Regions from separate parts of the Homo sapiens genome. Here regions 1, 3 and 4 are each linked to region 2. Evidence: promoter capture Hi-C in 16 types of primary human blood cells and fetal thymus (Javierre and others, 2016). All regions are on one chromosome and are shown on one strand. Each heading gives the region's core, a stretch centred on a gene start or on the middle of the fragment in contact. The rest is flanking DNA. Distances are from core to core; before and after follow the strand shown.

Region 1 (6,728 bases), core at 2,168-4,667, 500 kb after region 2:
TAGTGGCACGATCACAGCTCACTGCAGCCTCAACCTCCTGGGCTCAGGTGTATTTTTCCTCCTTTATCTCTTTAGAACCTCACAACTACCCTAGTAAGCCTTGGGAAAGCAAGTATTTGGCTCATTTGACAGATAAGGAAACAGGTTCAGAGAATCCAGAGAGCTTGTGACCTGCCCAAGATCTCAGATCAGATTAGTGGTAGAACTAGATTCCAGCCCATGGGTGGCCATAGCCCACATTTTTCTCCCCATTGTGCTTAAATAGGTTAGAGGTCACAGGAAGAAAGAACCCCTTTTCTGGAAAAAATTATGTTGAAACTGTACCCAATTTATTCCTATTCATTGATTCATCTACTTGATTTCATTAGGCAGCTCTGTGATTCAAGAGATGGCCATTTGGGATGGGCAAAAGAGAACAATATATGACAATATACACTCCTTGGAATGAAGAAAGGTAAGTCTCCATCCACAAAATACCAAACAGACTTCAATCAGAACACTCTCAGTTCAAGAGGATTGGTGCTGATTGTTTATTTGTTAGAAATGTATATTTTCTGGCTGGGCCCAGTGGCTCACGCCAGTAATCTCAGCATGTTGGGAGGCTGAGGTGGGCAGATCACTTGAGGTCAGGAGTTTGAGACCAGCCTGGCCAACATAGTGAAAACCCATCTCTACTAAAAATACAAAAATTAGCTGGGCCTAGTGGTGCACACCTGTAATCCCAGCTACTCGGGAGGCTGAGGCAGGAGAATCGCTTGAACCCGGGAGGCGGAGTTTGCAGTGAGCTGAGATGGCACCACTGCACTCCCACCTGGATGACAGAGTGAGACTCCATCTCAAAAAAAAAAAAAAAAAAAAAATGAAAGGTGTATTTTCTTAATAAGTAGCACATGCTCACATACACACCATGGAATACTATGCAGCCATGAAAAAGGATGAGTTCATGTCCTTTGTAGGGACGTGGATGAAGCTGGAAACCATCATTCTGAGCAAACTATCGCAAGGACAGAAAACCAAACACCACATGTTCTCACTCATAGGTGGGAATTGAACAATGAGAACACTTGGACACAGGGGAACATCACACACTGGGGCCTGTCGTGGGGTCGGGGGAGGGAGGAGAGATGGCATTAGGAGATATACCTAATGTAAATGACGAGTTAACGGGTGCAGCACACCAGCATGGCACATGTATACATATGTAACAAACCTGCATGTTGTGCACATCTACCCTAGAACTTAAAGTATAATTTAAAAAAACTTCAAAAAAAAAATAAGTAGCACATGCTCATTGAAATATTTCAATAAAGAAGTTAATTTTCAAAAAAAACAAGGCAAAATCTCCCCTCTCTATTCATCTGCAATCCCACTCTGCAGAGTAAAACTGCTAAGTTTTCTCTGCACATAATTGAGATACACACATTTTGTGTTTTCATTTACCATAAATGAGATTATACTAAACATATTTTTCTTCAACTTGCTTTCTACAAATCTACAGTAATCACAAACATCTTTTCATGACAGAACATAGAGATTGTCTTTATTCTTTTAAATAGCTGCATAGTGTTGTATAATAAGTCATATCACGACAGTCCCCTACTCATGGATGTTTAGATGGCACTCAGTTTTTTTCTGTAATCAAAATTGTTTCTCTATACATCTTTGTCTAGTTACATGAGAATTTCTTTAGAATAAGAGTGGCCAACATTTCTTGAGCCCTTTACCTTCACATCATGTGAATAAGACAAATCGCTGAGCCATGGGTAGGGCATTTCACTGTAGACAAGCAGAGACGTGAGGCTCACAAAGGGTAAAGCTAGGATTTTTTGATATGTAATCAGAGTAGAAACTCAGTTCCCTAGCTCCAAAACCCAGATTCCTTTTAGCCTCCAAATACATGTATTTTTTTTTCTTTTTCTTTTTTTTTTTTTTTTTTTTTTTTTTGAGACAGGGTCTCACTCTTATTACACAGGCTGGAGTACAGTGGCAGGATCTCAGCTCACTGCAACCTCTGCCTCCCAAGCTCAAGCGATCCTCCCACCTCAGCTTCCCAAGTAGCTGGGATTACAGGTTCATGCCACCACACCTGGCTGATTTTTGTATTTTTTGTAAAGACAGGGTTTTGCCATGTTGCCCACACTGGTCTTGAACTCCTGAGCTCAAGCAGTCTGCCCACCTCTATTTCCTGAAGTGCTAGGATTACGGGCATGAGCCACTGCACCAGTCTAGCCTCCAAATATATTGATATTCTGATAAGATGCCACAGGGCTATATATCTTTTATTTGAACCCCTTGCGTCGCTCTGTTCCACTTAGCTAAAAAACTACCTATCCCCAGGGGGAAAAGCTGAGTGAGTGAAAAAGCAAAAAATGGTTAAGCTGCAGTACTCCAAGGAGACTAATCAAAGCATGTAAATATTATTTAAAATATCCTTTTAGGCTGAGTGCGGTGGCTCACACCTGTAATCCCAGCACTTTGGGAGGCCGAGGTGGGCGGATCACCTGAGGTCAAGAGTTTGAGACTAGCCTGGCCAACATGGTGAAACCTCGTCTCTACTAAAAATACAAAAATTAGCTGCGTGTGGTGGCGGACACCTGTAATCCCAGCTATTTGGGAGGCAGGAGAATTGCTTGAACCTGGGAGGCAGAGGTTGCAGTGAGCCAAGATTGCACCACTGCACTCCAGCCTGGACGACAGAGCGAGACTCATCTCAAAAAATAAATAAATCAAATAAGATATCCTTTTAATATATTTTAATCAGCTTTATTGAGGTATAATTTATTCACTAAAATGCACATTTTAAATAAAGCTTGCTGAGTTTTGAAAAAGTATACAGCCATGTAACCACAATCACAGCCAAGATGAATGTCTTTGTATATCCTATACACAATCTTTCATCAGATATAAGTACTGCAGATATCTTCCCCCAGTCTGTGACTTGCCTTTTCATTTTGAGCAGAAAGTTTTCATGTGACAAAATCCAATTTATCAAAGTTTTCTTTTATGGTTCACATTGAGTCTAAGAAGAAATCTTTGCCTACCCCAACATCATGAAGATTTTCTCCTATGTTCTCATCTAGAAATTTTATATATTTACTTTTTACATGTAAGTCTCTTATCCCTCTTGAGTTAATTTTTGTATATAGTATGAAACAACGGTATGAATTTACCTTTTGCTATGGATATCCAATTGATCCAGAATTATTTGTTGAAAAGATTATCCTTTCTCTATTGAACGATGTTGGTACCTTTGTCAAAAATTGACTATAAATGTAAAACCTTCAAATGTAAATATAAACTCTATTTCTGTCGATTCTATTCTGTTAAGCTATATGCCTATCTTTATGCCAATACAACAGTGTCTTGATTTCTGTAGCTATATAGCAAGTTTTGAAATCAGATGGTATAAATCCTCAAATTTATTCTTTTTTTTCAAAATTGTTTTGGCTATTGTAACTACAGTTGATAGAATTGACCAATGAAGCTGCAGCAGGCAGAATTCTAAAATGCCCTGGGACTGTAAATATGATGGGTTTTACTCTTATGATTAGCTTATGTTATATGAAACAGTTGACTTAAAGAAAGGGAGATTAGCCACATGAACCTTTTAAAAGCAGAAAGATTTTTGGTTGATGGAAAAAGAGAAAGCTAGAAATCTGAAGCACTAGAAATATTTAATGAGCTATTGTGGCTTGAAGATGGAGCAGGCCACATGACAAGGAATGCAGGCAGCCTCTAAGAGCTAAAAGCAGCCCCTGAGGGACTACCAGCAAGAAAATGGGGATCTCACTCCTACAAGGTCAAGGAAATGAATTATGCCAACAACCTAAGTGAGCTTGGAAGTGATTCTTCTCCAGAGCCTCCAGATGAGAACTCAGTCTGACAGACATCTTGATTTCTAGTCTCACCATGTCAGACTTCTGGAATACAAAACTGAGGGCTAATAAAAGGGTGTTATTTTCAGCCTCTACATTTACAGCAATTTGTTATACAGCAATAGGAAATGAATACAGAGCTGTCTGGACCCAAGCTTTTCTTTATGGGAAGCATTTTATCTATTAAATGAATTTCTGTACTTGTTATAGGTAGATTCAGATTTTCTAATTATTCTTAGTTCAGTTTTGGTAATTTGTATCTTTCTAAGAATCTTTGCATTTAAGTTTTCCAATTTGTTAATGTAAATTTGTTCATAGCAGTCCTGTGAACTCTTTAATTTCCATAGGACTGGTAGTGATGAACCGTTTCATTTCTGATTTTGAAAATATTCTATTTCTCTCTTCCTTCTTGGTTAGTCTAGCTCAAGATTTCTCAATTTTGTTGACTTTTTTCCAAGAACATGATTTTTATTGGTTTTTATTTTCTCAAGTTCATTGATTTCTACTTTTTATTATTTCTTTCCTTTTGCTTGTTTTGAGTTTATTTTACTCCTTTTTCTAGATTCTTGAGGTGGAAGCTTAGATTAAGATTTTTCTCTTTTTTTAATGTGTTTAATGTTATAAATTTCCCTCCCTGCACTAACTGCATGCCACAAATTTTGATTTTGTGTGTGTTTTTGTTTTAACTCAACTCAAAATATTTTCTAATTTCCCTCATGATTTCTTTTTTGACTATGGGTTATTTAAAAGCATGTTATTTAATTTCCAAATATCTGGAGATTTCCAAATTTCCTTCTGTTGCTCATTTCTAATTTAATCCTGTTGTGGTCAGAGAACATACTTTGTATGATTTCAATTCTGTTAAATGTGGGCCTTGTATCATGGCCTAGCATCCAGTCTATTCTGGAGAATGTTCCATGTACACTAAAAAGAATGTGTATTCTGCTGTTATTAGGTGTGGTGTTCTAAAAATGTCAGTTGTATCAGGTTGGTTGATAGTCTTCTATATCGTTACTAATTTTCTATCAAATGGGGTATTGAAGTCTCTTTGAATAGTGTTTTTCTTTTTAATTCTATCAACTTTTGCTTTATGTATTTAGGGGCTCTGTTGTTAGGAACATATACATTTATAATTGTTACATATTCATTATAAAGCATCCATCTGTCTCTAGTAATATGTCTTGTCTTAAAGTCTATTAATATAGCCACTCCAACTCTCCTATGGTACTGTTTTTATGGCATTTTTCCCCATCCTTTTACTTTCAACCTATTTTTATCTTTAAATCTAATGTGTCTATTGTAGGTAGCATATAGTTAGATCTTGCTTTTATTAGTCAGTCAATCTCTGACTTTTGCATAGCATTTAGATTGTTCATATTTAATGTAGTTATTGATATGGTTCAATTTGTCTTCCATTTTACTATTTTATTTATGTCCCATGTGTTTCTTCTTCCTTTGTTTCTCCTTTACTGTCTTTTGTGTTAAATGGATATTTTTGTGTGTGCTGCTTTTATTCCTTTGTTAGTTTTTAAAAATTATTACATTGTTTTGAGTTTTGTAAATTTTTTAGTGTTTGCTCTAGGGATTATAATATGCATCTTAATTTAACAAAATCTACTTCAAATTAATATGAATGTAATTCTAGTAAAATTATAAAAATTTGCTCCAATATAGCTGCATTCCCCCCTTTTTGTTATTTTATTATTGTCATATATATTATTTCAAGGTTGTAAACTCAAACTCAATACAAGATTATAATTATCATTTTATGCAATCTTACATTTTATAAAAATGTTAAAAGATTTATATATATACTTATATATTTACGTATATATAATATTCCTTTCTATTTACCCATTTATTTGCTTTTTCATGTGCTTTTCATTTCTATGTATGAATCTGAGTTACTATGTGGTATCATTCATTTTCAGCCTGAAGCATCTTCTTTATCATTTCTTTAAAGCAAGTATACTGGCAATGCATTTGCCTGAGAATTTATTTCTCCTTTATTTTTGAAGAATAATTTTGCTGAATATAGAATTCTTGCTTAACAGAATTTCTTCTTTTTTTCTTTGAAATGGAGTCTCGCTCTGTCGGCCCAGGCTGGAGTGCAGTGGCACACTTATTAGCTCACTGCAACCTCCACTTCCTGAGTTCAAGTAATTCTCCCACCTTAGCCTCCCCAGTAACGGACTACAAGTGCATGCCACTACACCTGGCTAATGTTTTTGTATTTTTGGTAGACACAGGATTTCACCATGTTGGCCAGTCTGGTCTTGAATTCCTGAGCTCAAGCCTTCACCTCCCAAAGTGCTGGGATTACAGGCATGAGCCACCACACCCAGCCCTATGTATACTTTTACATGTTTTTTTTTTTTACATGTTTTTAGGTTGGCTAAAACTTTTAATACAAATGCTAATAGATGCAAAGAATATAGTATTTAGATTATTATAAAAACTGGTTTTTTTTGTTTTTTTTTTTTTGAGACCGAGTCTTGCTCTGTTGCCCAGACTAGAGTACAGTGGCACGATCTCACTCACTGCAACCTCTGCCTCCTGGGTTCAAGCAATTCTCCTGCCTCAGCCTCCCAAGTAGCTGGGGACTACAGGCACATGCCACCATGCCCGGCTAATTTTTTGTATTTTAGTAGAGATGGGGTTTCACCGTGTTGCCCAGGCTGGTCTCAAACTCCTGAGCTCAGGCAATCCACCCGCCTTGGTCTTCCAAAGTGCTAGGATTATAGGCATGAGCCTCCATGCCTGGCCTATGGCTGGTAATTTTTAAAGTTAATTCATGTATCCATGGATGAATATTACTTGCTGCTGGGCACAGTGGCTTGCACCTGTAATCCC
Region 2 (6,619 bases), core at 1,040-3,539:
CTCCTTTTAGGGCTTGATGTAACAGGAAGGGCTGTAGCTAGGCTTATGCTACCACTGCCAGATAGCCACATTTCACTAATGTAAAACCAAGATTCAGTCTTTTCTAAATAATTATTTAATCCTATATAATCACATATTTTACATGAGTTGATTTGACTTCAGTTAATGATGTCGTCTCTTAACCAAGACCAGTCTATACAAAGAAACTGTAAAGAGTTGACAGTTGACACTAGACAAAGTGCAAACTTAAAGAGTTATTTATAAACTGTATTAAGTCAGCTGGTGCCTGAAAGTGTTCACGTAATGGTAAAAATTCAGCTATCAACTCTGAACAAAGCTGGTCTATCATATTCAGTCCCATTACAGTAAATCATGTTTCATCAAATTTAAAGTTGCTTCAAAGTCTCCCAAAATAAAGCCTGTTCTTTGATGTGTTCACTTCTCTGCTTAGAGTAACTAGAAATATACGTGATGAGATGGACTTCAACCCCTGGACATCAGTGCTTTTCCAAATTCATATTTCCCTCCTATTTTTCTAGCCACGACTCCCGTTTCTTTCCAACTTCCCTTCCCCTCCCATCTCAGTAATCAGTTTTCTTTCTGGGCAAACGCAAAGTGGATTCTGTCTACAGCACTGCGGTAGGCAATAGTAAAACAGAAAAAATGGAGGGAGATTGGGAAAGAAACTGAGGTAGCCACCAGAACCGGAAAGGAGAAAACGTGCATTCTAACATTCCATGAATAAGAAGGAAGGCGTCGCCCCCATCAGAACTGCAGAGTCATAGCAGGCCCCAGCCATTTCCAAGCACACTCCCGCAATCTTCCTAGTCAGACAGCGGGAACTCACACACAAAGACAAGAGGACTGCAGGAAAAAAGTTGATGACCAGATGCCAATTCCCTACAAGAATTGTAGTCCACTGCGGGTATACGAGACCTTAAAGTACTACTATCAAGGACTGAGTTCTAAAGTTAGACTTTAAACCATGTTAAGTGGTAAAAGAATAATTAGCACCCTTAATAGGGGACCTGAATTTTGGTGCTTAATGGAAAGGGAGCGTGGTGCTAAGAAATAAAGAGAATGGTCTCGTATTTAGTACAATTATCATAATTTTAGAAACAGCCTTGGGCAGAAACAGGCAAAACAATAAGCTGGAGGTTTTGTGGCAAATATTCTCCAAACATATTGCAACCAACTCAAAACCATCAAGTCTCAAGAAAATCAGGCAATGTGAAGCATAAAACTGCATTAGTTCCTTTACTGCCACCACTAAAGAGGGAGGGACTTAGAGAAGTGAAGTGTGCTCCTGGTCTTCGCAGATAATTGAAAGCCCCCGAAAAGCACCCCTTTTTTGAGCTATGTTGCATAACTGGGGATAACCGTATATCGATGAATCTCCATATGAGAAGAGAAATCAATGGCAGTTCGCCATCTTGGAGAATTTAAAAAAAAAAAAAAAACAACCTATAGAGCTAGAGCTGAAGTCGAGATTCACGAATCCACCTACGCGGTCGGCGTACATCTCTCGCAAGCCCCAGAGGCCTGGACATCGGTAAACCTACGCAAAGTCGCTTCGAGAATCCCGGGGGCCGGGCCGGGGCCGCCGCCTCCCACAGCCGGAGGCGCGGGAGGCGCGCTGTCCGCGGAGCAAGAGCCGGCCAGAGAGCCTAGGGACCTCCACCCGGGGCCCGCGCGCCCCAGCCCGGATCCCCGACCCCCGCTTCCACCCCAGAACGTGCATAGCAAACCTCAGGGCTTCAAGAGAACCTAGGGGAACCGCACTAGGAGGAAAAAAGGAACCCCTCCCCTTGCCCTGGCCGGTGCGTGCCCCCTCCCCCAACCCGGGCACCTGGACCGACGCTGGGAACGCCGGGGGCGCCCGGCCAGGGCCAGCAAGGAGTCCGGCCGCCGCCCCCAGCCTGTCAGCGCAGCCCCGGGTGAGGGGGCGTCCCCGGGCCTCGGCCTCCCCGCCCGCCCGGCAGCCGCATCCTCGGCGCCCGCTGCCTAGCACACCTGCGGGCTCGGCCCTCAGTGTTCCAGCCCCGCGCTGCGGTGCCCCCGCGGCCGGCCACCCCGCTCCGGTGCAGGGACCAGGGTACCGGCCGCCACTGGTCCTCACCGTAATGCTCTGAAAGACGCCCCCGGCCGTGGCTGCCCAGACGTATTTGGCGTCGCAGTAGCCGACAATGGCGGCCTCCTGGCAGCAGCCATCGCACATCAGGTTATCCACGTAGCTCTGCCAACCGGCCATCTTCGAGCCCTTCGCACTGCAGCGCGGACGGCGAGGAGCAGCAGGCGCAGCGGCGGCGGCGGCGGTAGCGGGCGGCGGCGGCGCGGGGGGAGGCGGGGCGGGGGCGGGGAGGAGGCGGCTCTGCGCAGGCACCGACCGCCCCCCTCCCCGAGGAGCTGCGGCGGGAGGACGCGGGTTCAGCGATGAGGGACGAACCTCAGAGCGCGCTCGGCCGCCCGGCCGCCCGCAGCCGCGGGGCTGACAAACCAGCGGCGGGAGGCTGCGAAGCGGCTGTGCCTGTGGCGGCTGCTCCTTACCGCAGCGCCCTCCGTTTTCCGCGGACACGGCTGGGCGTGCGCGCGCGCGTGCGTGCGATCCTTCCGCGGCGCCCGGGCACGGAGGGTCCCGGGAAGGGCGGGGGGAGACTGAGGCGGGGGCGCGGAGGGATACCGCCCCGGGACAATCACGGCCGCCACGTGCGGGAGGCGCCGGCCGGGAGCGGTGGCGGGCCGAGCTTCGGACCTCGGGCCGGCGGAGAGGGTGGACCCCGCGTCGCTCTCGGCACCCCAGGAACAGCGGCGGCACGGACGCCTTGGAGCCCCGCGGCCGGGCCGCGATGTGCTTTTCTCCTGTGTTCGCTGCCCGGGATGCGGAATCTTGAGCCTCGGTGTCGGGTTACAGAGTTGTCCTGGTGACGGGATGCGGAGCGTTTCCTCCTTTTTGTTGTGGGGGCGGCTGGTGGCAGGGGCAGCTGGTGGCAGGGTTGCCCACGCTAATCTCCGAGTCTCTAAGGGCACCGTCTTTCCTGGATCCCTCTTGCGCCTCGTCCATAAAGGCAGACCCGCGGGCGCGCGCCGGCAACCTGAAATCAGAGCAGGCGTCCGTGGCGCTCAGGAACCTTGCTGAGCTTCGCCGATCTTTCATTGTTGCTTCATTTGGGTACCAAGGGCCTCTCATTCTGTGGATTCTTTGCCTGGAGGAGCCCCCTTAATGTTGCTAATCACGTGTGGTTAAATTGCTCGTAAATTCCGAACAAAACAAATAGCGACCTGTGTTACACTGTTTCTTGGTAACTGGGAAAGTTACTGGTGGCTTGAAGTATACGCAGAAAATACAAAGATTAAAAACTAGGGAAGAGTTCACTGAATGAACACCGTAACATTTCTGCTCTGCAGGGTAAAATAATTTCGGGACCCAGGTCTGGGAAAGATTTGTATTAACAAGGTAAACGGTGGGTAGAGTGCCTGAGAAGCTATTCGTATCGTCTTTGGTAGCCTCTGGGCACTAGGACTAGACATGGAATTAGGGGTCCCCCAACAATGACTTCAATTTTAGGTTAATAGAAACCATCTGCCACTTAAGGGAAAGAAAGCACCAAAATGTAGATAAGTTGATGTTCACCCTTAAAGTTATCGTGTGAGGTCATGATTTGTAGGAGGATTAAGGAATGTATCTCTGGAAAGGGCAAGAACGTTGCTTTTAAAAGTCTAATTGGTTCTGAAGTTTTATATTTTTTCTGCTGATTGCTTTAAAATGTTCAGCTACTAGAGAGAAAAAAAGTACAGTAAAAGAAACCCCCAAGTCAGAGACCTATCAGACTGAGAATATGTATTTTCTCATGTTCTAAAGATACAGAATACCTGTGTGGTGTAAAATGTGAACCAAAAATTGTTTCATTTTTGTAAGTGTGCCTCCCACCTGATTTAATTACACTTAATTGTTCTTGTTTATGACTCTGCCTTTTATGGTGATGTTGATCATTTTAGTCCTTCGATCATAGCACTGTATCATCTTAAAAGTTAATAATAGATTACTTGTAACACAGGCTCACTATGTGAGAATTCATCAAGCTGTATGTACATTTATTGTGCTCTTCATTGTATGTATAATTCAATAAATTGAAACAGTAAACGAAAAGGTAATTATAGAAAAAATACAGTGATAACTTGAAGTATGTTGAATTTTTATTAATTTACTCTGAAGGTTTTAAGATATAATTTCTAGACGTTACTATCTTATTGTTATAGCACAGAGTTGGAAATAACTACATTCTTTTCCTATTCTTTTATTGTTGGCTTTAAACAGTGAAAGAATTTGACCAACAATATTTTCTAATTCAAATCTCAAAAGATTCTAAAACACATTTCTTGGGTAAAATATTCACAAAAATTTAGAATTCTTGTCATTCTTCTATATTTTTCAAAATATAATTCATTTTAAATTACTGCTTACTTTTCCAACATGATGTTATTTTTCTAGAATTGCAAACAGTAAAATTTAAACAACTATGAAAAAAATTCTGTATAATAGATTAAATTTTACAGTTTCAATTTTTAGGTTATATATTCAAAGAGAGTCCATGTGCTGTCTTGGTTTTCAGTACTGTAATAAAGTAACCTGTGCTTTTTTGTTTGTTTGTTTATTGAGATGAGACTCCGTCACCAGGGCTGGAGTGCAGTGGCATGATCTCGGCTCACTGCAACCTCCGCTTCCTGGGTTCAAGCGATTCTCCTGCCTCAGCCTCCCAAAAGTAGCTGGGATTACAGACACCCGCCACTACGCCCAGCTAATTTTTTGTATTTTTTGTAGAGACGGGGTTTCACCATGTTGGCCAGGCTGGTCTCAAACTCCTGACCTCGTTATTCGCCTGCCTCGGCCTCCCAAAGTGCTGGGATTACAGGCATGAGCCACCATGCCCGGCCACCTGTGCTTGTTTTCTTTAGAACCAGCTTCCTTGCATGCTGCTTTATTTTCCATTTGTGTACAGTGATCCCTTCCTATTTCATCTAAGTGTTGCTTATACGTTTCAGAAAGTATAAATAGAGGTGGAATACTGAGCTTTAGTAATAACAATATTGGTTCACTTAAGTCCAAAGGAGTATCAGTGTGAGAAAAAGAATTGCCAATTTGTATCTTCCTCTACTTTTCTGAGAGTAAGTAATCCCTAGGATAATTGTAATATCTGGGCAGAAGTTTAGAAAAGTTGTGGCTGTGTTGTTGATACAAATAGCCAGAATAATGTAGCCATTAACAATCAGTAGCATATTTAAGTTTGGAGTGCATTATTATGCATTCTTTCCAGAATTATTTTATTCTTATTGAGTAAAGCAGAAACTGTGTAGTAAGCCACGTTCTTTAATGTGTAAGTCAAGTGGTGTCTGAACCACTTGAGTCCATGTAAAAATCATTTGAAATTTTAGCAAAACACAAACAAGAAATTATCTTTAAAATGTACACAACCTGATAATCATTGGGAGCAGGATCTAAAACTATACACAGTAATTACCCCCAAATTTAGTAAAACCATAATTAACCATCAGTTATTTAAAAATTTCACCGCATAGTTCATTTCTGAAAAAAGTATATGAATTATAAAATCAATATCACAGCAATAAAGTTTAGAAAATGGAGAAAAATCCTTAATCCCACAAGCTAATACAAATATCTTTTGAATGTATTCACTATGTATGATTTTTACAGTAAAGAACAAGGAGAACTTATAATTCTGCATTTGGCCATTTTACCCTGAAATTCTATGAATTTTTGCTTTTTATATTTTGAGGCTATTAGGAAAATGGAAATTTAAATTGTTATATTTTTCCTTTCTGATGAATTTATTCTTTATTATTTAGTAGTTGCCCTCTTGATCACCAATACTGCTTTTTGTCTTAAAATTTTTGTCAAATATTAAGGTAACATCCCAGCTCTCTTTTTATTGGTGTTTACCTTATATATCTTTTCGCTCCCCACCTCTCTTTCAACCTTTCTCTGTCCTTTTTATTTTGTGTCTCATAAACTTCACGCAGCTGGATTTTGTTTTTTTATCCAATATGGCAGTATAACCTTTAATTGGCAAGTTTATTCCATTTACATTCATTGTAATTATTGACATACATTTGGACTTGTTTGAACTAATTTTATTAGTCTCTTTTTTTTTCTATGCTTTTTTCTTCCTTGCCTTTAAAAAAAATGTCGGGCATGTGTGTTTTATTCTTTTTTTTTTTTCAAATTTATGCTACCAATTTTTCTTAGTGTTACCCTTAAATTTTTGCCTTGCATATTTAATACAATAAAGTTTTAAGTTAAATATCTTAAACACTACCCCTAGACAATCCAAAAACCTTAGAATGTTTTAAGTCTGGACACCTCTCTCCAGACTCTTACACAGATGTTTATGTATGTGTGTATATATATGTACTTACATGTTTGTATTTTATTTACTTACTATTCCTTTTCATATCTCAGATCATTCTATGATCATTTTTCTTTCTAAAGTACATCTTTTAGAAGTTCCTTTAATAGCAGTCTGTTGGTGAGAAACTATGTTTATCTGAAAATGTATTTATATCACTTTCATCCTCTGACAATGGGTTGGATCTACAATGCAAA
Region 3 (6,902 bases), core at 2,805-5,304, 450 kb after region 2:
TCATATAGGCCAAACATTGGTAAATTTTTTTAGAAAACATGATGGCTTATATGTGTGTGAATAATACAGATTTCCAGCTGACTATTTTAGTAACACTTGTTTTTTCTTTTTAGGAGATCACAACCCCTGAACTAAATCACCTTTATGAGAAGTCATTTTATATAGGACTGGTGGTAGGGGTATATATGTCCTCTACTTCCTGAGAATAAATATAATGCCAATTCATTTGTTATTTAAGAATCCTGGGCCAGGAGCGGTAGCTCATGCCTTGTAATCCTGGCACTTTGAGAGACCAAGGTCAGAGGATTGCTTGATGCCAGGAGTTGGAGACCAGCCTGGGCAACATAGCGAGGCTTTGTCTCTACAAAACATTTAAAAATTAGCCAGGTCTGGAGGCCAACACCTATAGTCTTAGCTACTTGGGGAGGCTGTAGGAGGAGGATTGCTTGAGCCCAGGAGCTGGAGGCTACAGTGAGCTATATTATAATATTGCACTGAAGCCTGGGCCACACAGCAAGGACCTGTCTGTAAAAAGAAAAAAAATAATTCTGATAGCACTAATTTGGAAATAGTGAAATATGGTACTGGATCTATGAATCTGGTACTTCCTAATTAGGAATGGGAGTCTATCTTTCTCTGCACCAGAAAAGATCAGAAGCAGTTATGAACAAATAGCAGCCCCACCAATCAAGTAGTAGAGAAACCCAAATAAATCTGTTTCCTAATAAAGGAATGGTAGTTAGGAAAGTATAAAAGGAATCTGACCTTCCTTTCCTAAAATGGCAGGAGTTGGGGAAGGGGAAGTGTAGAATGATAGCAGATAATCAAAATGGAAGAAAGTACAGTGGAGTGGCATGAAATATAGTCTCAAAAGAAATAGGAACACTTGTGAATACTGAGGAATGGTGTTCTAATTCTTTCTTTGAAGAATTGTTTTAGTCCAGTGTGTATTTCCTTTTCTGAAGATTCTGTTTATTTCTTAATTGCATTACTCGTTAAATACTTAAAGTATGAGGAAGGAGAGGCCTTACAAAAGCAGGTCTGTCTGGTTAAACATAGCCTGAATGATATTCCGTAAGTAATTCCTTAAATTGGAAAAGCAGATTTTTGGTAAGAAATATTAATCATATTTAAGGAGTATGTGTAGCAAAACTCCTAAATTAGAATAAATTATTTAAGTGTATGGTTTTTCTTTATACTAAACCAGTGGGCTTGTGATTTGAGGCTACTGTTTTCGATGGTATTGTATTGAGTCCACAGAGAATATGTATACCTGAATCATTGGTATAATGTCTTTCCCACAGCAATTCTTGAACATATCAAATTACTCGATATTTGTTATATTCTTAATCTGGCATTGCTTAGGGCAAAAACTGGGTGTCCCTCATAAAAAGGTAGGAACAGTAGCCAGTTTGCACCATTCCTATACATTATTCCATGACTTTAGGAAGTATACTTTGAGGTATACTCTTCAGATTTGGTTTAATAATATTAAAGGTATATTGATGGATTGTTTCCTGTATGAAAGTATTGCATGATTTCTGCTCTTAAATCAGGTGAATTAAATTTCATCTGGATTGCTTATCTCAAATTTAAAGCCTCAAATCAGACTTAAATAATTAGTATTTAGTATTTAGTTTGATTCCTTTGTACCCAAGCTAATTTTTGTTTAAAAAGAAAAAGTGCTTCCATCCTTTTAAGTAGTACATTTATTTGTGATGTTAGTGAAAGTTCTGCAGGTAACTGAGTTAATTTTATTAGTGTTTGCCTGGGACATATACCTATTATTAGGGTAGGCAGGACAAATAAGTAAAGTCTAAATGTTAAATTACTTAAAGCTTCTTTTCCCATAAGCCTTTCCTAAAATTTGTCTAAAGAATATTGCTTTGTAGAAGATGGAGTTTGTGATTAATGTGTCAATTATTGTAAATAATGATGGCATAGTTTTAAATGTTAGTTTTAGGCTGTTCATCTTATTACACAAGTATATAATTTAATCTGAATAAAGGATTCCCAAAGGTAAGTGTAAAGCCTCTAGTTTCTAAAGTAGAGTTAGTATTTAGTTTTTATCAAGTGGTTTTATATGTTAAAGCAAAACAAATCTTTGCTTGGCATACCGTCTACCTAGTCTTTGAAGACAAAACAAAGGAGGGAGGAGCTGTTTTGATCAAATAAAACCAATAGCGTGTTTAATTATGTGTTAACATATGTGAATGACCATTACAGAGACAGTAGAGTCAGACATACCCGGGCTAAAATCTAACTGCTACATTTGACTTTGAGCTAGTTGGTGTAGATGCCTTGTTTCCTCTTATGAAAAATGGGGATTGTACCTACCTGGGAGAGTTTTAAGGAATTAAATGATGTGTGCAAGTAATTTGAACAGTCTGTAACATAATATATGTGGCAAACGTGTATCACAGAAATGTTAATATTTCAGTGTCCAAACTGCTCTCCCAGATCACCCCTTTACATGTTATAAATCATACCAAGAATCTTCCATTTTAATATGAAAGCGTAATTGTATGGTATGGATGTAGTCAGAAAAAAGGAGATGATGTTTTAGTCTAGACGAGTCATGATGTTGTAAGAAGTATAGGGAATTGTGTTCCAGTCCTGGCTCTTCTATCATTTAGCTGGTTTCTTTGGTCAAGTCATTTCACTTGTCTGTTTTTCTTTTTTGAGACTTTGTCAAATTTTAAGATTCCTTCTAGCCTTATGTATATGAGACCATACATTCAAGTGTGCTTCATGAGAGAACTGCAAACTTAAACTTTCTTCTTTTTACCCCTTTCCTGCCACTTGACTATTGTGTGGCAATAAATGAAGTTTGTAAATACTCATTAAGTAGGTTGATTGCCCAAGAAAACATTTAAAACAGCTTATCAGTCATTCAGCTTTCATGATGCTCTGTGAGTAGTGAGCACTGGAATACAAATATGAGACTATGCTGCCCTCCTAGATCTCAGGCATTTTCATCATCATGAAAATGATGATCAGATGTATACTTTGACATACATTGGAGGTGGTGATGGAGTAATATAAGGTGCTAATGGGAACAATTTGAGACATCAGATCAGATTGGGATTGGGAGGGTAGTAGACTGACTTCTATTTAAAAATTATTCTCTGCATAGGTATTTATATAGTTCAAAACTCAAAATATATAAAAGAGTAAAATCGAAAGCCTCTCTGCTACCTCTGTCCTCCAGCCACCCTGTTTGTCCTTAGAAGTAACCCATTATTACTTGTACATTCTTTTGAGGCTAACTCTTGAACTAAATCTTAAAATGGTCATTCAGATTAAGTCACTAAGAAGAGAAGGGGATAGTTTTCCAAGCAGAGGTAAAAGGCAGTTTGTATAATGATGTGAAAGAGTGAGAATCTATCATTTGGAAAATGGTATTGTTAATTTGACAAGAACCAGAGTGAAGGACTTTAAATGTCATGGTAAGAAATTTCGATTTTTATAGTAAGTTGCTGTTAAAGGTATTTCTGGAAGCTTTTATTGTTAAAATAATATATATCTTGAAACGATTTCAGTATCCTTTTAGTGATTATTGCATTTTAAATTATAATCTTATGATAAAGCTGTGTTAAGGGAATACCTTCAGAGCGCTGAGTCCCAAAAATCAGAATTCTTACCTAATGAAATGTGCTAAATATTTTGGTACCCCTGGCTCTAAGTTTAAGTATTCTGTTTCCCTCAATATTACCTTGATAATGTCAGAACATTTGGTACATGTTGAGATACTCTACCAAAATTTGATTTATAGGTAGCATAATTTGGAAACTAACCTTATATTAAACACAAAGCAAGCTTACTTGTGTCAGGTCCTATGTATATAGACTTTCATTTGATCTTTCCAACAATTTGTAAGAAAGTGGTTTCTTCCCTTCCCCCTTTCTTATGGATTAAGGAAACTGAGACTCTTAAAATTTGAGTCACCTAGGTATTGGGTGACAAAGCCTAGACTCATATTCAGACCTTTAACCTAAAGCCAGTGCTTTTGAATATTCCCAGAGTTAGAAGTTTGTTTTATTACTTGGCACACAATAAGTTAGGAAGAAGGAAGAACTACCATAGCCACTGATTTGTTGTATTGTAACCCTTTACCTAAAGGATTTTTTTAATCATTTAAATTCCCCAGATAATAATACTGGAGATGGTGCTTGTTGATGTTCTTCATATTGTATGTCCCTGGTTTCTATTTAGAGATCTCTGAAGTCGAATTTTGGCATAGATTAAGAGAAAGAGGTGTTTGTTGAGTGCTCAAGTACCTTATGCTTTAAGCTTTGACAATTTTTGTAGCTTAGTTTTGAGGTATGGAATGTTTGTTTTTTTCTCCCTGTTGTACTTAGTTACCCTACAAAGATAGTGTCTTGCAAAAACAGGTAGACATGCCACATGCTTTGAGTCATTTTCTGATGTAGTATTTTCACATACTTGGAAATTAATGTGATGGACTATTGAGTATATAAAGTCAGAGAGAAAAGAATGTATTTTGTTCAGTGATGTTAAAGAATATTTACAAATAGGAAAACAGCATTTTTGTTTAGGTGGCTGAAGTACAGTGTAAACCACATCTCAGTCTTCCTAGAATTGCTTCGTTGGCTCTATATTTAGAATGGTAGTTTATATTAATATCAAATAAACTGTTAAAAAGCTGGTTTCAAATTTTATTTCTTGAGTGGAAGAGAATTTGTGACCACAGCTGCATAAAAAGTCAGTATTTCCTTCTAATAAAATTTTTAATTTCAGTTGCCTCTTCATGCTTTCAGGTTTCATGGACTGTAACCTTGAAATGATCCCATTAACAGCCTTTTCCTTGGGCTCTTAATCTCCTCAATTTTATGCCATTCCAAAATAGAAGTCTCTCTGATGATCAAGCCTTTCAATCTTTACAGATGGCTCTTTTCCCTTCTACTTCCTTGATCAGTGATTTCACAGACTTGACTCCTTTAATCTGTTAGTCAGTGTTTGGAGACTAATTATTGTTGCTGTTTGCTACAAACCCCTCAGTTTATGGATAACATCCCAGTTATAGTATCCCAGAAACAAAATTTCATAGCTTATAAGACTATCTAAATTTTTACCCTTAAAATCTAGACTGTTTAAAGTTTTATGTAGTACATAGATTGTGTAACTGTGTACTATAGAAAACCATGTACTGTGGCTTCTTCACTTTGAATGTATGTAGAAAGAGTGATTGTTAATTGTTAGCTTTTGCAAATTAAGTGTATTCTAATATGTGCTGAAAACTTTAGGTCCATTTATACAGTATTTTATTTCACAGGTTCTTTCCACATCCCAGTATTTACTACTAACTACAAATATGTTCGTTTTTCACCTTTACATTTGACTTAAGAGATATTGCACTATTCTGTAAAACTGCTGGAATTTTATAACAAGTCATATGACTTCATTTGGAACCAATTTACCTGGAATATGAATTTGATTCAAATTAAATATTTGTATTTCCAAAGTCAGAGGATCTAAAGGTCTTTTAAAGATGCCAGGTGTGGTGGCTCATGCCTGTAATCCCAGCACTTTGGGAGGCCGAGGCGGGCAGATCACCTGAGGTCAGGAGTTTGAGGCCAGCCTGGCCAACGTGGTGAAACCCCATCTCTACTAAAAATACCAAAAATTAGCTGCGCGTGGTGGTGGGAGCCTGTAATCCCCGCTACTCGGGAGGCTGAGGCGGGAGGATCATTTGAACCCAGGAGGCAGAGGTTGCAGTGAGCCGCGATTGTGCCATTGCACTCCAGCCTGAGCGACAAGAGTGAAACTCTGTCTCCAAAAAATAAATAAATAATAAAGTTCTTTTAAAGAATATCATCCTTATAAATATATTGTGAGTACTCTTTAATGAATTTTGAATTGTAGACTTGCAGAATAACTTCCAAGATACTCTTTCTTATTCTTTTGTATATACTACCTTCCTCTTTGAGTCACTCCATTTAAACTGGAGGTCTCCAAACAGACCTTTGAGGATAGCAAACTAGTTCCCATATGTTCCTGGGCAAGCCTGTTTTTTTATAAAACAAAAACAACAACCAAAAAAAAAACCAGATTGAATGTTCAATTGGTTCAGTTAGTTTTCATTTGATTTGGCAGACTGACTTCTAAGTACAGCGAAAAAAGTGGCCTGACAAATACATCTTAAGAGGATGTAAGCCGTTAAATAAACAGTAGGTAGAAGCCTCTTAAGCTTTTCTTGTTATTAGCAGGTCTAATCAGTGCCTTTGATTGCCTTAGACCTAGTTAGGAGAAAAGTGGAAAAAGGATTAAAAGAATAGAAAGGAGTTGAAGTAGGGCAAGCAATGAGAAATACACGTATTAGTCTCCTAATTAATCAAACAGTTACTTTGGTGATTCTCTGGCATCTTGGAAGTCTTTTTTTTTTATTGTACTAATAATTCTGCACAGACTTTAAGGCTCTTAATAGGACCCCAGAATTGCCATGTTGTATCTAAACCTCATTTTGTAGATTAAAATAATGCTATTGATGATTCACTGTATGCCAGGAACTTTACATTTAGTCTCAGTTCTTTAGCCTGCAAAGCTAGGTAGTAATGTAACCAGTTAACAGATAAAGAGACAGACTTTTAAAGAGGTCAAACTTTAACACTGCTATGTGTTTAGTGTAGTGGTTTAAGAGCATAAACTCTGGAACTAGATTGCCACCTACTAGCTCAGTGATGTAAGGCAAGTTACTTCTATCTGACCCAGTTTTCTCCTCTATGAGATGGGAGTAATAATGGTGCCTACCTCTTAGGGCTGTTGTCAGAATTTAGTTAATGAGTGTAAAGCACTTAGAATAGTGTGTGGTACCTAATAAACACATTCTTAACTGCTGCTGTTCTGCTACAGCATGGGCTAAGAATTTTAAAAGTTATGTG
Region 4 (6,836 bases), core at 3,134-5,633, 280 kb after region 2:
CTTGAACTCCTGACCTCAAGTGATCTACCCACCTCAGCTTCTGAAAGTGCTGAGATTACAGGGGTGAGCCACCATGCCCAGCCTATTCCTTCTTATATGTAATAATCATTTGTTGATTTCCAAAGTTTAATGCCCTAAGCTAGGTAATATATAGGAGAGACAAAATTAAACAAGACAGTGAACTCCCAGGTACTATGTCACTTAAGAAAAAAAGGGAAAAAAGGGACACCCCCTAAGGAAAGTTCACCTACAAAGAAACAATACATGAAGTGCTTAGTAACTGAAGAAGATGAGTCTAGGACATGTCCAGGGCCATCACGATCACATCACACATCACATTGTCAAGGTAGCTTCAGTCCCTGCAAAGATGGACTCAGAAAACTAAACTCACAGTAAGTCTGCCCTCAGATTTAACCTGGCCACAGCCATCATCACTTATTTGCCAAACTGGAACAGCTGAGGAGCACGACTACACACAGACATTAGATTCACAGATATGCAGGGCTGCCAAATGGGACTCATGAAGAGGCAGAAATCTGGAAATCCCATTAGCGACAGATGCAGCGCAGCATGCGTGTCTGGGGAGGCACTGGCGCCAGCCCTTGGGGAAAGGCAGATCCATCTTGGATCATGACAGCCACTCCAAACCAACCTGAGGCCAGCATGAGGGTGAGATGTGGCGCAAAGAAGGGGTGGATAAAGCCAGGCAGTTAGCAGCCATCTACTTGCCCCAGAGTAGGGCAAAGACTCCTTGGTTTCCAAGAGAAATGAGTTCAAGTCCTTGGAGGGCCTCTAATTTGATGTTTGAATGGGAACCAGAGTGCTCAAGTTTGAATCCTACCTCTACCACTTCACCTTGGGCAGGTTCCTTCACCTTTCTTTTTCTTCTCCGCAAAATAGATGTGACCCATTCTAGGACTGTTGTAATAATTAAATGGGAAAATACATATATACTGGCAATAGTAATTATTGTTAATTGTGTCCTATATAAAATGAAGTTCAATGAAAGACTCTCTTTGTTTCTTTCTAATGCTAACATTCTGTGATTATCTTAAAAGTACCTGAGATGAGATATCCCTGGTTCATTCCTTTTGCTCTTAACAGCATCTAAACATTTATAATTTTGGATTTCTATACAGAACTAGCTGTTTGATTGAAAGTGTGACCTGTGTGTCTATTTTCACTTCCGTTTTTATGCCTGTTAAAATCTCTGATGATATTCGTGCACTAGCTCAGGTAAAAGACAACTACTTTCATCTAACCACTTCAACATTTGTAATCAGTGTTAACTAGGGAGGGAAACTTGAAGATTTCACTTGCCTATTTTCACTCAGTCCTACCTTTCACAGAGAGCTCATTCAGGAAGGGATGAATTGAGGCTGAAAGGGGCACACATAAATGTGAATATAGTCACATGACAGGAGAATTCTAGATTTAGAAGTTCAACGTGGGGATTACACTTGCTGAAAATAATCTTAATGTATATTTTAGTGGTAAATTGTTAACATTCTTTCCATATTTCCTGACCTCAGCTATTCCCTTTCCTCCGCTGTGGTTAAGGGTAAAATTCAGGAATGGATAACTTTCAGAGAACCAAGGAGACAGGATTTTGCCTGTGGTCAGGAAAAAAAAAAAAAGAGAGAGAGAAAGAAAGAAAGAAATTTCAGTTGCTTCAAAGCTGGTTTGTGAGAGGTCAGGGGTGGGGAAGGCAGAGGGAGGAGGCCTCTCCAGGGGCCCAGCCGAGGCTCCAGCTCCCTTTTTGTTTTAATCTGGTTTGTGGTCCTGCTGGCCCAGGGAAAACACGGACTTGTACTAATGTAGCCCAGGAAAAATATTGGAAGGAAAAAAGCTTAGACACTTTGTATAAACTACAGAAAATAAAAGCAATAAACTGCACAAGCAGATGAGACTTTCCTGATGGAAGTACTGTGATTTCTCAAAGCCAATAAAAAAGTCCTCAAATACATCCTCAAAGAAACTTGATTGTTTATTGTGGTGTCACATTTATGACCCACGTAAGTAGCAGTCAACTAATATCTTTATAAAACTCTGATTTATAGGTACTTTGATTGGGCTTTTCTGCTTACTGGGACCCCAAATGTGACAGGACCACCTCCCTATTTGCGTGAGGAATTCTTGTTGTTATTGAGGACTGTGGATGCCCAGTAACCAAGATGGTTGCTGTTGATGACAGTTTTACATATTCCATTTTTCCGAGGGGCAAAAGTCACATGCATATGACTGAATTCTTGGTAGAAGCTCTTTCAATTTTCTTTATGGTGATAATCAGAGACAAAGAATTTCCTTTGGAAAAGATCTCTAATAAAATTATGAATAAATCACTTGGACTGATCCCAAATGGAGAAATCAATTTGATTTGTAGAAGCTAAGCCCTTTAGATTCTTCTGCAACATTTTGGTAAACTCATTTTTTAAAAACAGCAGCACACCACAAGTTGGTCCTGTAAATCATGTAGATCACTAGATTTGGGAGACTAGAGGACTAGGAAAAAATGATGACAGTAATCCAGCAAATGTTTAATTTCTACCCCACCCCCAAAAGGAACAACTACCCTTTCAGAGCCAAGTCCTGACTTCAGGGCTGCCCACAGTCTTGCTCTCTGAAAGCCCTGTAGAAAATTAGAGGGGTGGAAGGCAATCATTTAAAATAGATCACATTCAGTTTTATTAAAAAACCAAAACAGCTGGGGTATTGATTTGCAAGCTCTGTAATGCCATTGGTATGCCCAACCTGGCCAAGATATTAAAAAGATATTTAAGGAAATGTCACTAAGTGTCTCAGGCACAAGTTTTGGCATATTCAACCAGCATTGTGGTGCTGTGGGTAATTCGTCTTCCTTTATGTTTTGCTATGCAGCACAGGGGGAGGGGACATTTACAAAATGATTTACTGTGACACATCCATTATAATGAAAGCATGTGCCGCTTGCCAGCACTCCTGGCCCATCTTCTCCCTCCCAGATGCTCGGCCATATGTCCCATGCTTGGCGTGAGCGACAGTTGTGTTGATAGAGAAGGAGTCCTGGGATCTCGGTGTTTTTAACAGAAATCCCAGAAAGCTCTGAGGTTGCTGGCTCAGGTAAGAAAAGCAGCAGGAAAGGGCCCATTGTTTGGGACTAAGTGTTTTTAAAGATGCTTCAGTGGTATAACCACAGGATGGAGTGAGATTTACTGTCTCCTCAAGGCCAGGAGGATTGCTGAGAGAGGAGCTCAAGCTTCACTTGGGGAGCTTTCCACTGTTGCTGGCTTCCCAGCTCAAGTTCTCTTTCCTTCCTCACCCCTCCGCAAGATAACTGGCTGCTCTCTGCTCTATCTTCCAGCAACAGCCCATTCCTCAGTTACCAGGACCTTGCATCCAAATTCGAGCGGCACGCATTACTGCTTCGTGAAAGCAGCTGCTACTTTGACCATGTGGATCTCCTGGCTCCCTAACTATTGCAACCCTAGCTTAATTGCCTCTGCTCCTGGAATAAAATCAGCACTTATTGAACACCTGCATATGGAAGACATCATGCTAGGCCCTGTGAAAGAAAGAAAGAAATTTGGTATACAGTTGGTTTTGCCTTGAAAAGTTTACCATCTAGTTGTGAATTAGTACTCCCATCTATGTCCTGGCAAACCTTGGACAAATTTCTTAACCTCTTTGCACCTTGATTTCTCCATCTGTAAAAGAGAGGATAATAGTATATAGGATTGATGTAAATCAATTAATATGTATAAAATGCTTAAACTAGTACATGACACATAATAATCACTCAGTAAATGTTAGCTAAATTTGGCCCCTAGTTGGAGGAAAGAAAGAGGGAAAAAAGAGGAATAAAATTAGATTTATGTGCTGTATCTTGTAATAAAATTTTATATATGTTCACTGAATTCTCACAATACCATGTAAGGTAGATATTACTGTTACTCTTTAATTTTTAGTAAATTGAGGCTCTGCTAGGTTAATACTTTGTCCAGGTGTTCAATGTTGACAAAGCTTACAGTCAAGGCCAAAACTACTTAGTGCCACAGCCCATGATTTTGAAAAGACAAATAATTTAAAATTTAAATAATGTTTACAAGACACTAGAGGTTGTCTAGCAAAGGTCAATCTCTGATTGATTTCCCAATAAATTGCATGAGAAGACATTGCCTAAGAGTTCACTTCGATATGGAGCTGGCAACCGCAGGGAGCTCTTCCCACCACTAGACCTGAATGAAGCATCGAGGAGCCATTCTTGGAAGCCAGGGAGGGGAGTGGAATGGAAAGGGCTGCCTGGCAGGAGCTGTATCTCTGGGTAGAGGGACACAGCCAACCTGCAGGAACCAGCAGAGAAGGGGCCAGGAACATACTCTGATCTTACCTCCTCCTTCCTCTCTCCTGCCAGTACTCTTGGGTAAGCAAGCCCTTTGCTGCTGTCTAAATAGGTCATCCTCCCTGGGCAGAGAACAGGATGGAAAAGAGTAGAGAGAGGACCTGGGGGTGCAAATGTAAGATATCCAACACAGGAAGTTTGTTATAAGATTAGATAACTTACATGGCACTGTGTCTGCTACACAGAAGATACTGACCACCTGATGGTTACTATTATTTCTTATTATTTGTCCTGCTTTGGTTGGCTTGGTATTTATGTGTCCAGTTCAGATCCTCTGGCCTCACCGCAAACAAAAGAGTTTTCTAATCCCTGTAGTAGCATGAGAAGTGACTCACTAAAAAGTCAATTAAGTTTCTTGTCTACAATCTTTTGCCTCTATTTTTTTTAAAGGAAGCTTTCAAATGGGGTTGGGGGTGGGGAACTTGGAAATCATTTTTTTAAACACAAGCTTTGTGATTTGTCTTATTGGAAGTTCTTAACAGAGGAAAGGGGCCTGTTTGTTTAGATTGCTATGCAACAGGAGGCATTGAGTAAATGGTTTCCCAGTTTTTATTATTTTAAACTTCACCCGGAGAAAATTGATCCAAGTTTAAGAAAGACAGGAGGAATGGAATATAGACTCTAATGTTTCCAAAATTCTAAATGGCACTGCAAATAATAGAACCCTAAAACAAACATTCACAAACAGAAAATTACCTTTGTATTTCTCACTTTCAAGGTAAAATCCGTAGAAAATATGTCTTCATCTATTCAAACAGAATTTTTTCCAGCTAATTTATACACTACATGCTAAATAATGACAGAAAGTTGAAAGTTTATCACTTTCTACCAAATATCAGCAAAAGGTTAAGTTGCTGTAGAATAATTACTTTTTATCTCCATTTTTCACCCACAACATGCAGAAAGCACAACTAGGCAGAAGCCATCATTGACCAAGAGGAAAGAGGGGCAGATGCCTCCTAAAATTCTTTCCCTATCTCAAACTCAGTCACCAGTTTTTACAAAAGCTTCACATTCCCCCATCGAGCTATTTTTCATTAGGCCAAGAGGTTTTGGGTTGATATTCATGTTGGTGCTGGCTCTATCAGGCTGGCAGGCTTAAGGCAGTTTCTGAATTTCCTGTTCAAGTTAGAGGGGAAAATGCACATGCGTCCAGTGCCCTGAACTTGGTGAAATCAGACATCTGGAAGCCAATGGTGGGGAAAGAGAGCAAAGGTTACAAGAAAAATAACACTCAGTAGCAACCAGCAAAACAAACTTTTGTCTGGAGCAACAAGAAGGCACAGCAAACACATCAGCCCATGTGGCACCAGCTCATCTTCTTAAAAACAGTGTCTTACTGCTTCTCCTAATGTCAGGAGTTCCAAAAACATAAAGAAGTAAATAAAAATAATTAAAATGCCTCTACCCAATAATTAAATGCCACTACCCTAACACTGTGATATATTTCCTTCTAGTTTTTTACACACACATATTCTATAGGTATATGTACATAAGTAAGATTGCAAAGAAATACGAAGGATATTTTAAAACTAAAAAACAGAATTATTTTATACTTGCAGTTTTATGTGTTGTATTTTAAGTCTACATTATTTTTACACATTTCCTTATATCATTACATATTGTCAGAATGGCTATTTTTTAAATTAGCTACGTAATAGTTCATCCTACAGATGTAGCATAATTTGACCAAGCTCTTGTTGTTGGCATTCACGCTGTTTCCAATTTTTTTACTGTTATGAATAATATTTTGAAGAATATCTTTGTAATTCTGCCTGCAGAATAAATTCCTAGAAGTGAAATTACTGGGTGAAAAGCACTCACTTAAAACATAAAGCCCAATCTGCCATCTAGAAAAGTTATGTCAAGCCTTGGTCTTGTGAGTAGTTTAGGAAAATATCTATTTTACTACACCCTATCGATCCTGAGAATTACCACCTTTAAAACTCTTGGCCTATTTGAGAGGTGGAAATGGTGTCTTAATATTTAAAATTTTTATTTTTCTTACTTAATAATAGTCTGAACATGTACTGACCATGCCAAATCAGTTTTTGTCATCTTTGAAAACATTGACTTCCTTTTGACTGGACTTTAAAGTGCCAGTTCCCGCAGAAAAGTCAACTTCCATGGACGTGTGAACACAGCCCTCTTAATATAAATATTACCAACTCCATATCAGTCTTAATTTTAATAATAACGCCAAACAATGGATTCTTTTCTGTCACGTTTTGCAATATAATCATGTCAGTTTTCAAAGGCTGGTACACCCTGGAATTACAAACACAGTCTGTGGCAAGAGATATTGGCAGCTCTCCAACCCAGAATGACAAGCAAGCATCCCTTCATTCTGAGCCCACAGGATGATGGTGCAGGGACAGGGGACCTAGTGACATGGGTATCCATTGGCAACCTGACACTCGTTGACCCCTCACATGTCAGAGTTCCTAACTTTCATGCC

The links. The method cuts DNA at HindIII sites, captures the fragments that hold promoters and counts their contacts. A CHiCAGO score of 5 or more calls a contact.
Region 1: a contact is called between a fragment that was not itself captured here and the fragment with the promoter of PFN2 in region 2, in 1 of 17 cell types (megakaryocytes). The highest score is 5.2, in megakaryocytes.
Region 3: a contact is called between a fragment that was not itself captured here and the fragment with the promoter of PFN2 in region 2, in 2 of 17 cell types (endothelial precursors and megakaryocytes). The highest score is 5.6, in endothelial precursors.
Region 4: a fragment that was not itself captured here is called in contact with the fragment with the promoter of PFN2 in region 2 in 2 of 17 cell types (erythroblasts and megakaryocytes); the score reaches 6.2 in erythroblasts.

What each region holds. Positions count from the first base shown.
Region 1 is chr3:150,472,433-150,479,160 of GRCh38, forward strand. No RefSeq gene overlaps it. Among named protein-coding and RNA genes, the nearest start is that of TSC22D2, 67 kb to the left of the region's middle. The HindIII fragment of the contact is 1,221 bases long and covers 2,808-4,028 here.
Region 2 is chr3:149,968,606-149,975,224 of GRCh38, forward strand. PFN2 (profilin 2) reads right to left here and starts at 2,290. Exons shown (of 3, transcript NM_053024.4): 1 at 2,120-2,290. The coding sequence starts at 2,251. It overlaps LOC646903 (a long non-coding RNA gene), which reads left to right and starts at 2,674. Exons shown (of 1, transcript NR_036538.1): 1 at 2,674-4,637. RefSeq lists silencers at 1,486-1,745, 1,766-1,815, 1,826-2,065, 2,276-2,355, 2,586-2,645 and enhancers at 2,491-3,022, 3,023-3,553. The HindIII fragment of the contact is 10,546 bases long and covers 1-6,619 here.
Region 3 is chr3:150,415,287-150,422,188 of GRCh38, forward strand. The region is part of intron 1 of TSC22D2 (TSC22 domain family member 2); the gene reads left to right. Among named protein-coding and RNA genes, the nearest start is that of TSC22D2, 10 kb to the left of the region's middle. The HindIII fragment of the contact is 474 bases long and covers 3,818-4,291 here.
Region 4 is chr3:150,247,103-150,253,938 of GRCh38, forward strand. No RefSeq gene overlaps it. Among named protein-coding and RNA genes, the nearest start is that of LINC01213, 12 kb to the left of the region's middle. The HindIII fragment of the contact is 773 bases long and covers 3,998-4,770 here.